2 separate regions of the Homo sapiens genome follow, and region 2 is linked to region 1. Evidence: promoter capture Hi-C in human tissues and cell types (Jung and others, 2019). All regions are on one chromosome and are shown on one strand. Each heading gives the region's core, a stretch centred on a gene start or on the middle of the fragment in contact. The rest is flanking DNA. Distances are from core to core; before and after follow the strand shown.

The links. The method cuts DNA at HindIII sites, captures the fragments that hold promoters and counts their contacts. A contact is called where the count stands out against the background at its distance.
Region 2: a contact is called between a fragment that was not itself captured here and the fragment with the promoter of LIG4 in region 1, in 1 of the 25 tissues and cell types used here (dorsolateral prefrontal cortex).

Annotation. Positions count from the first base shown.
Region 1 is chr13:108,210,486-108,216,990 of GRCh38, reverse strand. It overlaps LIG4 (DNA ligase 4), which reads left to right and starts at 1,455. Exons shown (of 3, transcript NM_206937.2): 1 at 1,455-1,507; 2 at 2,381-2,453; 3 at 5,695-6,505. The coding sequence starts at 5,723. RefSeq lists a silencer at 1,253-1,392 and an enhancer at 1,236-1,530. The HindIII fragment of the contact is 8,794 bases long and covers 1-4,603 here.
Region 2 is chr13:106,498,556-106,505,060 of GRCh38, reverse strand. The region is part of intron 2 of EFNB2 (ephrin B2); the gene reads left to right. Among named protein-coding and RNA genes, the nearest start is that of EFNB2, 34 kb to the left of the region's middle. The HindIII fragment of the contact is 5,118 bases long and covers 193-5,310 here.

The DNA.
Region 1 (6,505 bases), core at 206-2,705:
TGCCAAGCATATATAAAGTAGACCATTTACATAAATAAATTAATAATCATGGCAACTCTAGAAGATACTTAGTGAAAAAAACCCTTGATTGTCTTTGAACCAATCAACTAAAATAACATGATGAAATGGAGACTGGGCTTTGAATCAATTTGGAGTTTGCCTGGTTTCATAATTCATGGTTCTTCTCATGTAACTAATACAAAGTCCAGCTTCTGACATTGTAGGAGCTCAGTAGAGGTTGAACAAGCTACAAATGTACACGGATAGGTACCCTCTCCTAAGATGGGCAAGTGGAGGCTCCTCTACCTTAACACTATTCATTTTTCCTCCAAAATAAATTGATAACTAAATTGAAGAGCAGATACTCACAAAACAATATCATGAGACTTTACAACATCACAGATGATTTTAGATATTCAGGCATATTAGGTCAATTAGACATACGAAGTAAATAACTGAATGTTCTTGGGCTAGACGGAACCTCCGCTACAAACTAGCACTGAATGAAATGTGTCAGTTTTGAAAAAGGAGGTTTTTATACATTACACAACCTCTAAGGGCACTTAACAGCTCTAATATGTTTTATCAGGGCCCACTGCAGCAAAATTTATTTTATTGTAAAGCAATATTTTATGCTAAAATAAAATAGTTCTAAAAGTTGTTTCCACCCCTCTTTATGAATAACTTCTCACTTCTCCATGGCGAAAGAGGACTGACCACAGCAAAAATTCGGTGGAAACCAACAGCTCCTGGAACACAAAAACTGGGGTTGTTTATAATCTCTCCACCCTGAATATCTAGCACCATTACTATATAATAATAGGTGCTCAATAAAGGTTTGTTAAATAACTTTATTTTTAAACCTTAAACAGATACTAGAAGAGTCCATAGTTGATTTCTGGTCATGCAACGGTTTATTTCTATATTGTAAGTTATGTATTGTTATGTATTATTTCTGTATTAAGAGAACTGAGACCACAGTAGCAAACATCATTTAAAAAAAAAAACAGCTCTATATAGTTTGCAAAAGCCTATTTTTTAAAAGTTTAAATGAAACAACCAACGTTTTGAGTTGGGAGGATGTCCTGTTCTCTCTTGGGAGTTTTCACAACCAGCGAAATCAGTATAGTTACCACTGTTTTACGTACAGAGAACAAGAATTAGAGGCTATCACTAGCCAGAGCACAAAGTGATCTTAGGTCTCCCTCGAGACAAAATCCACTGGCGTGTGGATCAACTGCTTGCAGAGAGCATCTGCTGCCGAGGCCAATAGGAGCCGTGTGTACTCAAGACCCTAACCAGGATCCTGCAGGTCCCGCCTCCGCAGCCCCACGGGGCTGCCGGCCCCCCCACCTCCCATCGCGAGCCTGGCTGCGCCGGCGTGCTTGAGCCCGGTGACTGCAAGGCCCCGGGTCTCCCCTGCGCCTGCGCGGCGAGCAGCTGGCGGAACCGGCATCTTCTGGCGCCAGCTTCCGGCTTAGCGGCTGAGCTTCAGGCTTGACGTCAGGTGGGAAGGGTGTGGGGTGGCAGGTGGGGGCGGTTGGGAGGTTGGGGGGGGTTGGGGTGGGGGGGGTGGGGGGTGGCAGATTGACGGTGTGGGGGGAGTCAAGTGGAAGGTGTGGTCCAGCAGGCGGCGAGAAGTCTGTGGGGCAACAGACCGGGGGAAGGTCTGTGGGGCGTCAGGCGGGGTATCTGTGGGACGTCAGGTTGGGGTCTGTAGGGCGTCACGTTGGGGGTCTGTGGGGCGTCAGAGGGGGGAATCTGTGGGGCGGCAGGTGGGGGGTGTTCGGGGCGGGGTTTGGGGTGTGTGTGGCGGCAGGAGGCGGGGGAGGTCTGTGGGGCGTCAGGTTAGGGTCTGTGAGGTGTCAGGCGGGGTTTACGTGGGGTGGCAGGTGTGGGGTGTGTGGAGAGTCAAGTGGGGGGTGTGGGGCGTCAGATTGGGGGTCTGGGGGATCAGATGGGTGGTGTCTGGGACGTCAGGCGGGGGTCGGGGGGTCGTCAGGCGGGGGATGTGTGGGGAGTCAAGTAGGGGAAGTGGGGCGTCAGATTGGGGGTCTGGGGGATCCGGTCGTGGGGGTGTCTGGGACGTCAGGCGGGGGGCCTGAGGGGCGTCAGGTGGGGGGGTCTGGGAGGCGTCAGGCGGGGGTCGGTCTATGGGGGCAGCAAGCAGGGTGTTTGTGCAGCGGCAGGTGATGGGAGTTGCCGAGTCCACAGCGCTGTAGACTGCGCCGCATTAGAAGCCTGGCCTCCTGATGCTGTGCTCTTCATCTAGACCCAAGCCCCAGGTCGTGGGACGATTTCTCCCGTTTTTGACTCCCTGGAACTGTATTGCCTGCTTTACCTGCGTACATGTTGATTCTTTCTCATGGCAACCCCGCAGGAAACCATCAAGATCTCATTTTACAGCTGGGATTCTCTGGTTCACAGAGGTAACGGAGCTTGCCCGAGGCCAGGTATTCACTGGGAATCCGTGAAGGGTTGGGGGAGAGTAGGGGGAACGGGCAGAGGAATGATGTAGACTCCTTAGGGATTTTCCATTTTCCGAGAGGGTACAGGGGGCATTGGAGCGGGAGAGACTTTAGGCTTGGAGGGAATTACTTTATTTCTCTTCTTACACTTGGTCTTTCATTAACTTTTGGGATCCCAAAGCCCTTCTAGCGTCTTTGTCTGCTCATTTCTTTTTGCTGAGATTGTCCCAAATTGTCACTAAGTGCTGTGGAAGATAGGCAGCTGTAAACCCTTTGTTTCCTAGGGAAACACAGCTTGTCAAGGGTTGCATGAAGGATACTTCAGTTGCATTCGTCACTTACTCCTTTTTTTCCTCTCTCTTTTTTAAGTGCAATAGCATAGCACTTAATCACCTTCCATAGTCACTGAATAAAACCTGCCGGTTTATTTTCATGTGTCACTTCAGGACAATTTAGTCAGAACTGAATGAATGATGAATCGTTATTGTGTACTAATTGCTTGCATTCATTCTCCTGAAAGCTTTGCTTATTGTTAAAGAGTGAAGCTTCTTCCCACCTTTTTATCTCGTTAATATTTTGCAATATTTATATTTTAAATGTTGCTTGGATCAGCAAGCATTATAGTATTAAAATTATCAAGACTTACTACTTTTTAAAGCACATTTTGTAGATTATCTGATTTTTATCTTCATTCTAATTTCTACATAGTTTTTAACCCCATTTTATACTTTAGGAAACTGAAGCTTAGAGAAATTAAGTAATTGCCCAGTATCACACAGCTGTTAAATGTTACCATCCACATTTGAACTCAGATTTATTAGAGTCTAAAACCTGAGCCCTAACCAGGAACCTCCTCATTTGTCTTACTGCAAATGGAATGAATCAGCTAAAATCCTCAGAATCCAAAAAATAAAATTAGCATGTAAAAATGAATGGAAGTCCTAATCTTTGACTTTTTATGCCGTTGTAATGAGCAAAAATACTTACGACTAGTTTATGGCAATTTTGGAATCCTTGTTATAGGCGTAGCCATTTTAGGATACATGTGTATCCACACCATTACCTACATTTTGTCATTATAAAGTAATTTAAGTCCTTGCCTGGGATTTGTTGAGCGAAACTTTAACTTTGAGACCATGTAGAATCTATAGATATATCTGTAGAAACTATATACCAATATTTGAATATTAAAGAAATATTAGTTAACCTACTTTATTTTACATAGTTTATATAGAAATTGTAGATATAGCATTGTGTACCCTGTTTACTCCCTTGAGGGAGCAAATTTTGGGAGATAGGGCAGTGAACATACATAACCAGGTGTTACAGTCAGTTATGCAAACCAGATTCAGAGAGAGGAAACAACAGTATATTCAAAGATAAAAGTTTCAGGAAAGTGGTCTGTCATGCGTTTATCCCTCGATCTAACCCACTCAGTAGAAGCTGGGTTTCCTTTGTCAGAAATTAGACTGAGAAGTGCACCTTTTTTCTCTATAGGCCACCAAATGGCTGTTGTAAACCATTGCCAGGGCAGTCAGAGCTACTGAATATTTTTAACCAAACTGAATCTCACCCACTGTGTGTCTGCGTGCGTGTGTGAGTGTGTGGTATGTAACCAGACCATAGCTTTCCCTAGTGTGCTTATCCAGGAGTCAACTCTAGGTGTTCAGTAATTCATTCAGCAAACCTCCTACATGTCTGCCACTAGAGCACAAATTACAGCACAATTCCTGGCCTCTAGATACTGACAGTATAGTAAATGTAGTATTGTAATTAGCCATTTGATTTATTTTACTGGATACTAGATAATGTAGCCTTGTGCATGTGTGTGTTGCTCATTTGTTTGCGAATTGGAAGATGGGGAGTCACATATTTTCTGCACTGTAATAGATCTCCCCACTCCCAGCAAAACTTCTCCAACTCCACTGCCTGGGATACATGGTGGTGTGCCAGGAGGGGTCTGAAACCACAGGATAAAACATAGTTTCTATTCATGGACCATACATTTTACTTGAAATCTTTTTTTGGAAAAGTTATTTAACATTACATAGTTTAAACCATATTAAAATTACTCTAATATATTTATCTTCCAGTAGAACTTGTATGAATATTTAAAACTAAAGAAATTTACACTTGTGAAATTTTAGGAAATATTCTTGCCCTAGCTTAGCAAGGTACCCATTATTTCTTCTCTGACTTTAGCAGATACTTTAGGGAAAAGCTCTCCCCTCAGGACATTTTACGTTTGTTTTATTTTGTTAAAGCACTTGGCATTTTATTATACTCAGTTTCCACTACACTCCCCCCCTTTTTTTCTTTTCTTTTTTTTCTTTTTTTTTTTTTACAGAATATATTTTCTTTTAAAGCAGAAACATGCAGTATTTTCCCCTAGCACAGTGTATGTAGCACATCTCATATGTAGTCATTAAATACTCAGGGAATAACTGGCATGGAAATATGAAAAAAGCAGCATACTAATAAATTTATACTTATAAGACAGTAAGTAACTATGGTAAAATAGATAAAGTGAGGATTTTATGGGTAGGGCATTTTGAGTTGGAATCGAATGCTGGTGTGATTTGGCATAGCTAGCAGTGAAGAAGTGAAAGGAAACATAGACGTAGGCTTTGTTTGGCTGGAAGAAGAGGGTACCTGTTTTTTCCTTTGTTTTGTTTTTTGGTCAAGGGCCCTGCCTATGATTAGGATTTCTAGGAAGTCAAATTTCAGTTCAGCAAATGAGTGATTTGTTAAAAATATCTGTTCGAAGATCAAGTTCATTTCTGGTGCTATGTGGTAGTCTGACAGGGAAAGAAGAGACATACATGAAAGGCCTTCCCTCAGAAGCTCAGAAGTGAAGTGAATTAAGCCTGATGAGTTTTTTTGTCACCATTATTAGCAATATTTGTTTGTATTATGTGCTAAATAATTAATACATAGAATAACTGGAATTTAAAGAGAAAATTAAAATGATTTCTGTATTATAAATACAGGAAATACAGCTATATAGCTGATGATACTTTTCATAATAACTTCAAATTAGGGTTGGAGCAAAACAGTTATTAAATGTAGAGGTTGAAAAGATACATCATTTAGAGCATTGATCTTTTTTTTAGTAAACATTAATAAACATTTATTATGATCTCAGTGATCTTTGTAAGATCTTTACATTAAATATTTAGTTGAATCTTATCTTTTACTTAAAGTTATTCTCTTTTTGCTTTACTAGTTAAACGAGAAGATTCATCACCGCTTTGATGGCTGCCTCACAAACTTCACAAACTGTTGCATCTCACGTTCCTTTTGCAGATTTGTGTTCAACTTTAGAACGAATACAGAAAAGTAAAGGACGTGCAGAAAAAATCAGACACTTCAGGGAATTTTTAGATTCTTGGAGAAAATTTCATGATGCTCTTCATAAGAACCACAAAGATGTCACAGACTCTTTTTATCCAGCAATGAGACTAATTCTTCCTCAGCTAGAAAGAGAGAGAATGGCCTATGGAATTAAAGAAACTATGCTTGCTAAGCTTTATATTGAGTTGCTTAATTTACCTAGAGATGGAAAAGATGCCCTCAAACTTTTAAACTACAGAACACCCACTGGAACTCATGGAGATGCTGGAGACTTTGCAATGATTGCATATTTTGTGTTGAAGCCAAGATGTTTACAGAAAGGAAGTTTAACCATACAGCAAGTAAACGACCTTTTAGACTCAATTGCCAGCAATAATTCTGCTAAAAGAAAAGACCTAATAAAAAAGAGCCTTCTTCAACTTATAACTCAGAGTTCAGCACTTGAGCAAAAGTGGCTTATACGGATGATCATAAAGGATTTAAAGCTTGGTGTTAGTCAGCAAACTATCTTTTCTGTTTTTCATAATGATGCTGCTGAGTTGCATAATGTCACTACAGATCTGGAAAAAGTCTGTAGGCAACTGCATGATCCTTCTGTAGGACTCAGTGATATTTCTATCACTTTATTTTCTGCATTTAAACCAATGCTAGCTGCTATTGCAGATATTGAGCACATTGAGAAG
Region 2 (6,505 bases), core at 1,502-4,001, 1.7 Mb after region 1:
AATCCTACAGGGTACTAGGAAAGGAAGGCCATTGGGAAAAGGTGGTTATAGTGGCAATTTGTTAGCTCTTATGAATTTTCTTTTTCTTTTTAGACATACTCTTAATTCCATTTTTTCAATAAATCTATACTATTTTGTGTTTTTATGTTAGCAAGTACTTTAAGCCCCTCAATAGAAAGTTGCTACATCATATAGTGATTAAAAATAAAAATCTCTCAAACATACAAGTAGAGGTGGTATGAGACTTCAAATTCCCTTAGCCAAGTACAAGTGCAGCAGTTTTGTTGGCTGGCTGGCTGCATAGAAGGACTGATGGATTGGCAGACCCTCAAGCTGGAGTGTAATTGATCTCATTACAGAGGAGCCAGGCTGGGTGACAGTTGTGCTTTGCAAGTGGTTTTTTGCATTGGTGAAGTAGCCCATTTTGTTGTTCCTGATGTTAAACAGGGGATGAAGGTATTCTTTTATTGGCACAAACGCGGGAAATTGCTCTGGATTCTTAGAGGATAGAACATGTCCCCTGGACGGAATAAGGTTCATGTGTAGGGCAAATTTAGATAGGGGCACCTTATTGGGGTTACTACTGGTCTCTAGATGGTCAAAGCAAACAACATGTCCATCTAAGCTGTGATGTCCATCTAAGCTGTGTGTGTCCATGAGAGTGACGCATTTTCTCCTCTGCAGTGTTGTTATATTCTAAACTGTCAGCAGACATTAATTCGGTCGCTGGTGAAGTCCCACCGCCTAGAGATGAACTCTGCCTCCGATGGATGTTTTCCACTTCAGTGCCACTCGTCTCGCAATTACTGGGTCATTAATATCATTGCATGCAATTAGTGACAGTAGAAAGAGCTAGAGGGTTGTGGGATGTGCACCCTCCCCACCATGAACTTTTTACTCTGACCCTTTCCCAGCTAGACCTTTTCGTATCTTGGCAAGGATATTTTAATGATTGAGACTGTCAGAATCTTCAGAGCAGGCACTGGATTATGTGCTGGAAATAATTCACTCAAACACCTGCTTCTCCATGGTTCAGAATATTTTCATTAGATATTATCACTATCCCTTCCCTGGGAAGTTTCATTTTTAAAAATCTGATGCTTAAGTACAGCTAATATAGACAATAGGGAATTATGTTTTATCTTTAGAACTCTTACATTATTCTTTTCTTTAAAAATGTGAGCTGAGTCATTGCTATTGCAGTGGTCATCTGGCCGCCTATTTTTAAAACACAATTCCTCTATCTTAGTAGATTTTGGCCCATATTAAGCATATCAAGAATGACTTTTTTTTTTTCAAGACATGGGGTTTTATTGGGGGCTTATATACAAGGAAAGAGAGAGTCCAGTGGCAGTGGGCTGGACAAGATATCCACATGGCCCTGTGGCAGTGAGCTGGGCAGGAAAACTGCAACTGCTTGCAAACAGCATGTAGTTCATCTATAGCATTTTCACTTAACACCACCCAGCTAATGACTTCCACCTGGCAACCTTCATTTAATCCAGAACTTAGGACCTCGAGTCCCTGTACGGCCCATGTTCCACAGGATGGGCCGAGGGCTCAGCTGTTCCTCATAGACAAGGAATGACTCTCCACATTGGCCACTCCCGGATTCCCTAGCTCAGGACACATATTCAGGTGTGTCTAAGGCTGGCTCTTCTATGTGAAGTTACTTATTCTTTTACCATTGACTCTCATGTTCCCACTATATTAAGTTTTTCTGAATTACTGTGGCAATAAGAAACGGTCCCTTAAATTATACTAGAAGAAAAGCTTTTTTTTTGTTTTGTTTTTTATTTTGAAATTATGTTAAATTTTTTTTCTTAACTGAGAGATTCCACCTGCATAAATCGTCATAACTTTTAACAGTAAGATCTTAGACTTAGAAAGTGATGTTTTTCCTCAACAGAATTTATTAAAAATCAAGACACCAAGCTGTTCCAAACAATAGTTTGAGGGGAAATAAAATAAACAACTCCATAAATAATCTTATGTTGTTAAACATGTCTCTAGCAAAACAAACAAACAAAAAAGTCGGGGGTTGGGGGAGGTGCAGTTTATTGCCAGTACTGTCTGGTCTTTCTCAGAAAAGCGTCAGTGTACATCACTGAGCCTGGACGGTATGTTTTCTTGATCTATACCCCCTATGTGTACATGTGCTTGCACGCACACACATGTAGACACGCACACATGTGCACCTGCCATCACTTTCTGCTCTTCCGTCTTTTCACTCTTGAGTGTCTGTAGCCAGTAGCTTTCCAGGTCTGTATAGTCAAAGATACCTATGGCCCTGAATGTCTTCACTGATTGCTATTTGACATTCATACGGTTTTTAATGGTTAAAAGGCTTTATGCGAAAGCTGTGATAGAATTTCTCCTGTTCTAGATGTGGTGTTTATTGCTTTATTTTGTGACTTTTCTCTCAGTAGATTGACCTTCTCCCTCAGTGTCCAAGCCTCGCATAGCATGATGGCACCTGTAAACTCAGTTCTGTATCCTGGTATCCTTTCTCTTCCCAAGTAGAAGCAATTAAGTAATATATGTCATCAAAACCTTTTAAGTGCACATACAAACAAAATCAACTTACCAAACTGCTTCAAAGTTGTTCCATGTTTAACACTCTTCTTTCTGAGCTCTGGGTAGAATGTCCTATTATTGTTCATCATGAATATTTGAAATTAAAGAAATAAAACTGTACCATTTTCTTTAAGAGCATCCATTTGTACTTGATAACATCTTCAGTCATATTTCAATGCTGGCAAAGAGGAGGGGAGTTCTAAACTGTGACTCAATTTTAGAATCTACTTTTTCCAAATTATTCTGTTTAGTGCAGAAAACTAATTAATAGTGTTGCATAGAAAAGTCACTGAAGCTAAGCCAGTTATTACTTCTTAATGCATGATTTACTGCTTTAAGTTTTCAAAACACAACCATAGCAATGTGGTATTAATTCAAGTGATTCTTCCTATCATATTGAACGATATTTTCACGGGTGAAAAACTCACACATCCTACATCACTGATAGTTTATACAGTGTTTTAGCTGTGGCTCCCTGCATGCAAAATAAGAGTTAATCAAATGTCAGTGAGAACCATCTCATCAAGTAGAGGGCTTGTTTTGTTTAAATTAACTTTGCTAAGTATAAATTTCTTCTTGAAAATAAATTCTGGGCCGGGCGCGGTGGCTCACGCCTGTAATCCTAGCACTTTGGGAGGCCGAGGCGGGCGGATCACGAGGTCAGGAGATCGAGACCAAACTGGCTAACACTGTGAAACCCCGTCTCTACTAAAAATACAAAAAATGAGCCGGGTGTGGTGGCGGGCTCCTGTAGTCCCAGCTACTCGGGAGGCTGAGGCAGGAGAATGGCGTGAACCTGGGAGGCAGAGCTTGTGGTGAGCCAAGATCACACCACTGCACTCCAGCCTGGGTGACAGAGCGAGACTCCGTCTCAAAAAAAAAAAAAAGGAAAATAAATTCTTCTGTATTTTTCTTTCTTCAAGTGAGGCCATTTAGGGGAAAGTATACCATAAAACTTGCTCTAAGATAAGGCAAATTTGGTATTATAGGATGAAGTGCTATGTGATTTGAAGTAATGCTGAATTTTTTAAATATATTAAACTAAACAAGAATAATGAGGCCCTCGGAAAGTCATGATTATATTTCTCATTTTTCTCATTTTAAAGCCACAGTGAAAAACACATAAAAGGAAGAAGTTAGAAAAAAAAATGAATGAAATTCTTTTTTTCCTTTTGGCAAATTAAATAGATGTTTCTGTTTCAGAAGATTTTATTAATTAACTTTAAAGAAACAGTCATTTATTTTTGGCATTCAGTGAACACTATCATTTCCATGTTTAGAACTTTTCTTCTAAGTTAGCATCTTAAAAGATAACTGTGAAACTCAAGGCATTCAACTACATTAATTTGAGTTTCAGAAATTGAATTCTTGTTTCTAGAGTACATAGTTTGAATTGATGTCAGGGTGTTAAATAGATAAATCTTAGCTTCCTAGGTTGTATATTCACACTAATTATTTTTTTATCAGCCTTCTTATTTTTCAACTTACCTTATTCTTTTTGTTTTTTTGACACTCAGATTTGATAGCCCTGTGGTAGAAGAAAACAGTAATACAGTTTGGTTTGTTGTTGTGTTTGTGTTTATTTTAAAGTCACGGCTTTGCTTTCCATGTTGTTACTGGATTATGCTTTTTTTAATTCTTCAGTTTGCCAAGATAACAGTCTTCCGATCTTCAGAAGTCTGTATCAAGCTTAAGGAAACTGATGTGTAGGAAGACTCGCCTAAGAAGTCCAAATTAGCAAGGCTAGCATGTGAGGACATGCTGGAAAAGAATAGTTCCCATAGATATTGACAGAGAATGTTCATAAAATGCTACTTGTTTTGTGGTTACATGAGAGTAACTTGTGTCCAGTGCAGCTGTATGTAAGGGCAACGTTTTTATTCTGACGACTCTGTGGTTTTCATGACCCTGGATGCTTATCATGTCTCTCTGTTGGACTTCTTCAACGGAGTTGATACAAATACTTGCTTCCAAGTGTCCATCTGCCCTCTCCTCCATCCTGGCCCCATACAAATACGCTACATTTTTAAATAATTTGAAATACCCTCAATAGTATTTATATTTCCTGGTGCTTCATTCTTTCCATAAGAACTGTGATACCATTATTCTGTAGGATTTTTTTGTGCTTCCCCGTTTCACATCTCTGTGCCAGTGAGACCCATATATCGGTGCAAATCCAGAAGTTTGATTGTCCATCTGATTAGCACACTGTTAGCAATGTGGTGGACTAAACACAGCCAAGATGTGGGGCTGGAGCTTAGCCTCCTGGGAGCAGAGCGGTGAACATCAGATGAAGACATGTGAAAATGGAGTACTACTTCCTCTTCCTGGGGATGGGCTAAAAAGCACAGCCAGAAATATTCTTGCCCTTCCAGTCTGCTTTACAGTTACTCACTGGTTCTCTTTTTTTTCCTACTCAGATAACCAGTATACTCTTCCCAGTGACTAAGAACTGCAGATAAGTATAGGTGCAAATAGATGGCAAACCGCAGATGGCAGCTGTGTGGTTTCAGATGTGCTGCAGAACTTTTAGACGATGTGAACGCAAGGAACTTTTTTGCTGAGCAGTAATCTCTACCCACTGGAAATTAGGCCCTGGGGGGAACAATGTAGTGACTTCTATATACTTACTACATGCAGTTAGACCCCTGAAGCAAAAGCTTTTAAAAACAGGCTGTAAAATGCCCATGTATCTTTATTAAGCCTATTTTCCAACTGGATAGAGAAATTTTCTGGTAATTTTTAAATTTGTAAAGTCTATTTTTTTCCTGAGCCAAGGGAAAAAAAATATCTGGGCCCTAAAAGCTTAGTTATAACAATGTTATTTTTTCTATCTCTGAATGATTAAATGTGATTTCATTTATGTAGCAATACTATGATTGTGGCTGCATTAGATCACGCTGATAGAAAGATACAAAGAAAAACTAAGTATAATGAACTAACAATTTATTTTCACTCTTTCTCTAAGTTAAAAATTCCCAGTACATTCAAATGAACAATGAAAATAATTGCAGAATTGTCTCCTGAAATGGAAATAGATTTTTTTTCCCAAGCATTAGCAATTTCTTGTTATTTTTCAAAATCAGCCACTAAGCCTTTCAGAGCTTCTTGGTGACTATTGCAGGAGAAATCAGAATATTAATCTTGTGGTTTTATTTCAGAGTTCGCTGCCAGGAAGGAGGTATAATTGGGATAGGAGACTTTTTTTTTTTAGCTGTGTCACTGTTCAAGGAGGGGGGTTTGGAACCTCAGCATAAGAATTACACTCTGTGATGAGGATGTAGCAGGGGAGAAGAAAGGTGATTTTCACTATGGGAAGCTATACTTACATCAAGTATAAAATAGACTGAAGTCATTTTGAATTACGTTATACTTGTAAAGTTTACCTCCTGGAGTTTCAGTTAGTACCAGTGTACTAACTGGGTTAAAACAGTTCATGGCACCTTAGATCATTTCTAACTCATGGCAAAAATCTTTCCTGGTGGAACGTGTAACTGTATTTTAAATGCCCCTTTATAAGCAACCAAGTATTTGGGATGTTATTTTGATATTAGTAGTGAATTTTTCAGTATCTTCCAGTACCCTTTGCAAGTCACAGGTTGACTTAAAAGGAAAAGAAGCAAAATGCTGAATATAGCAGAAAAACTGTCTGCATTCAGACTGTTCAGCCCACTTTTGCTCCCCACGTGGCAAGCACACTCCCCCAAACAAGCAATAGCCTGTGGCTTCAGAGGAACCTACAAAGGCAGCATCTGTAGATTTTTCCTTCTTCAACTCTAAGACTTGAATGTTTCCCTCTTCCCCACACACTTTTTTTTTAAACCAAGAAATAAAAAAGTTTTCACTCTTAAAGGTGCAAAGCAGTTTCATTCTTATGCAACACAGCCTTCCTCCTACTGTCTTATAGTCTGTGGATGTTAAATTATAG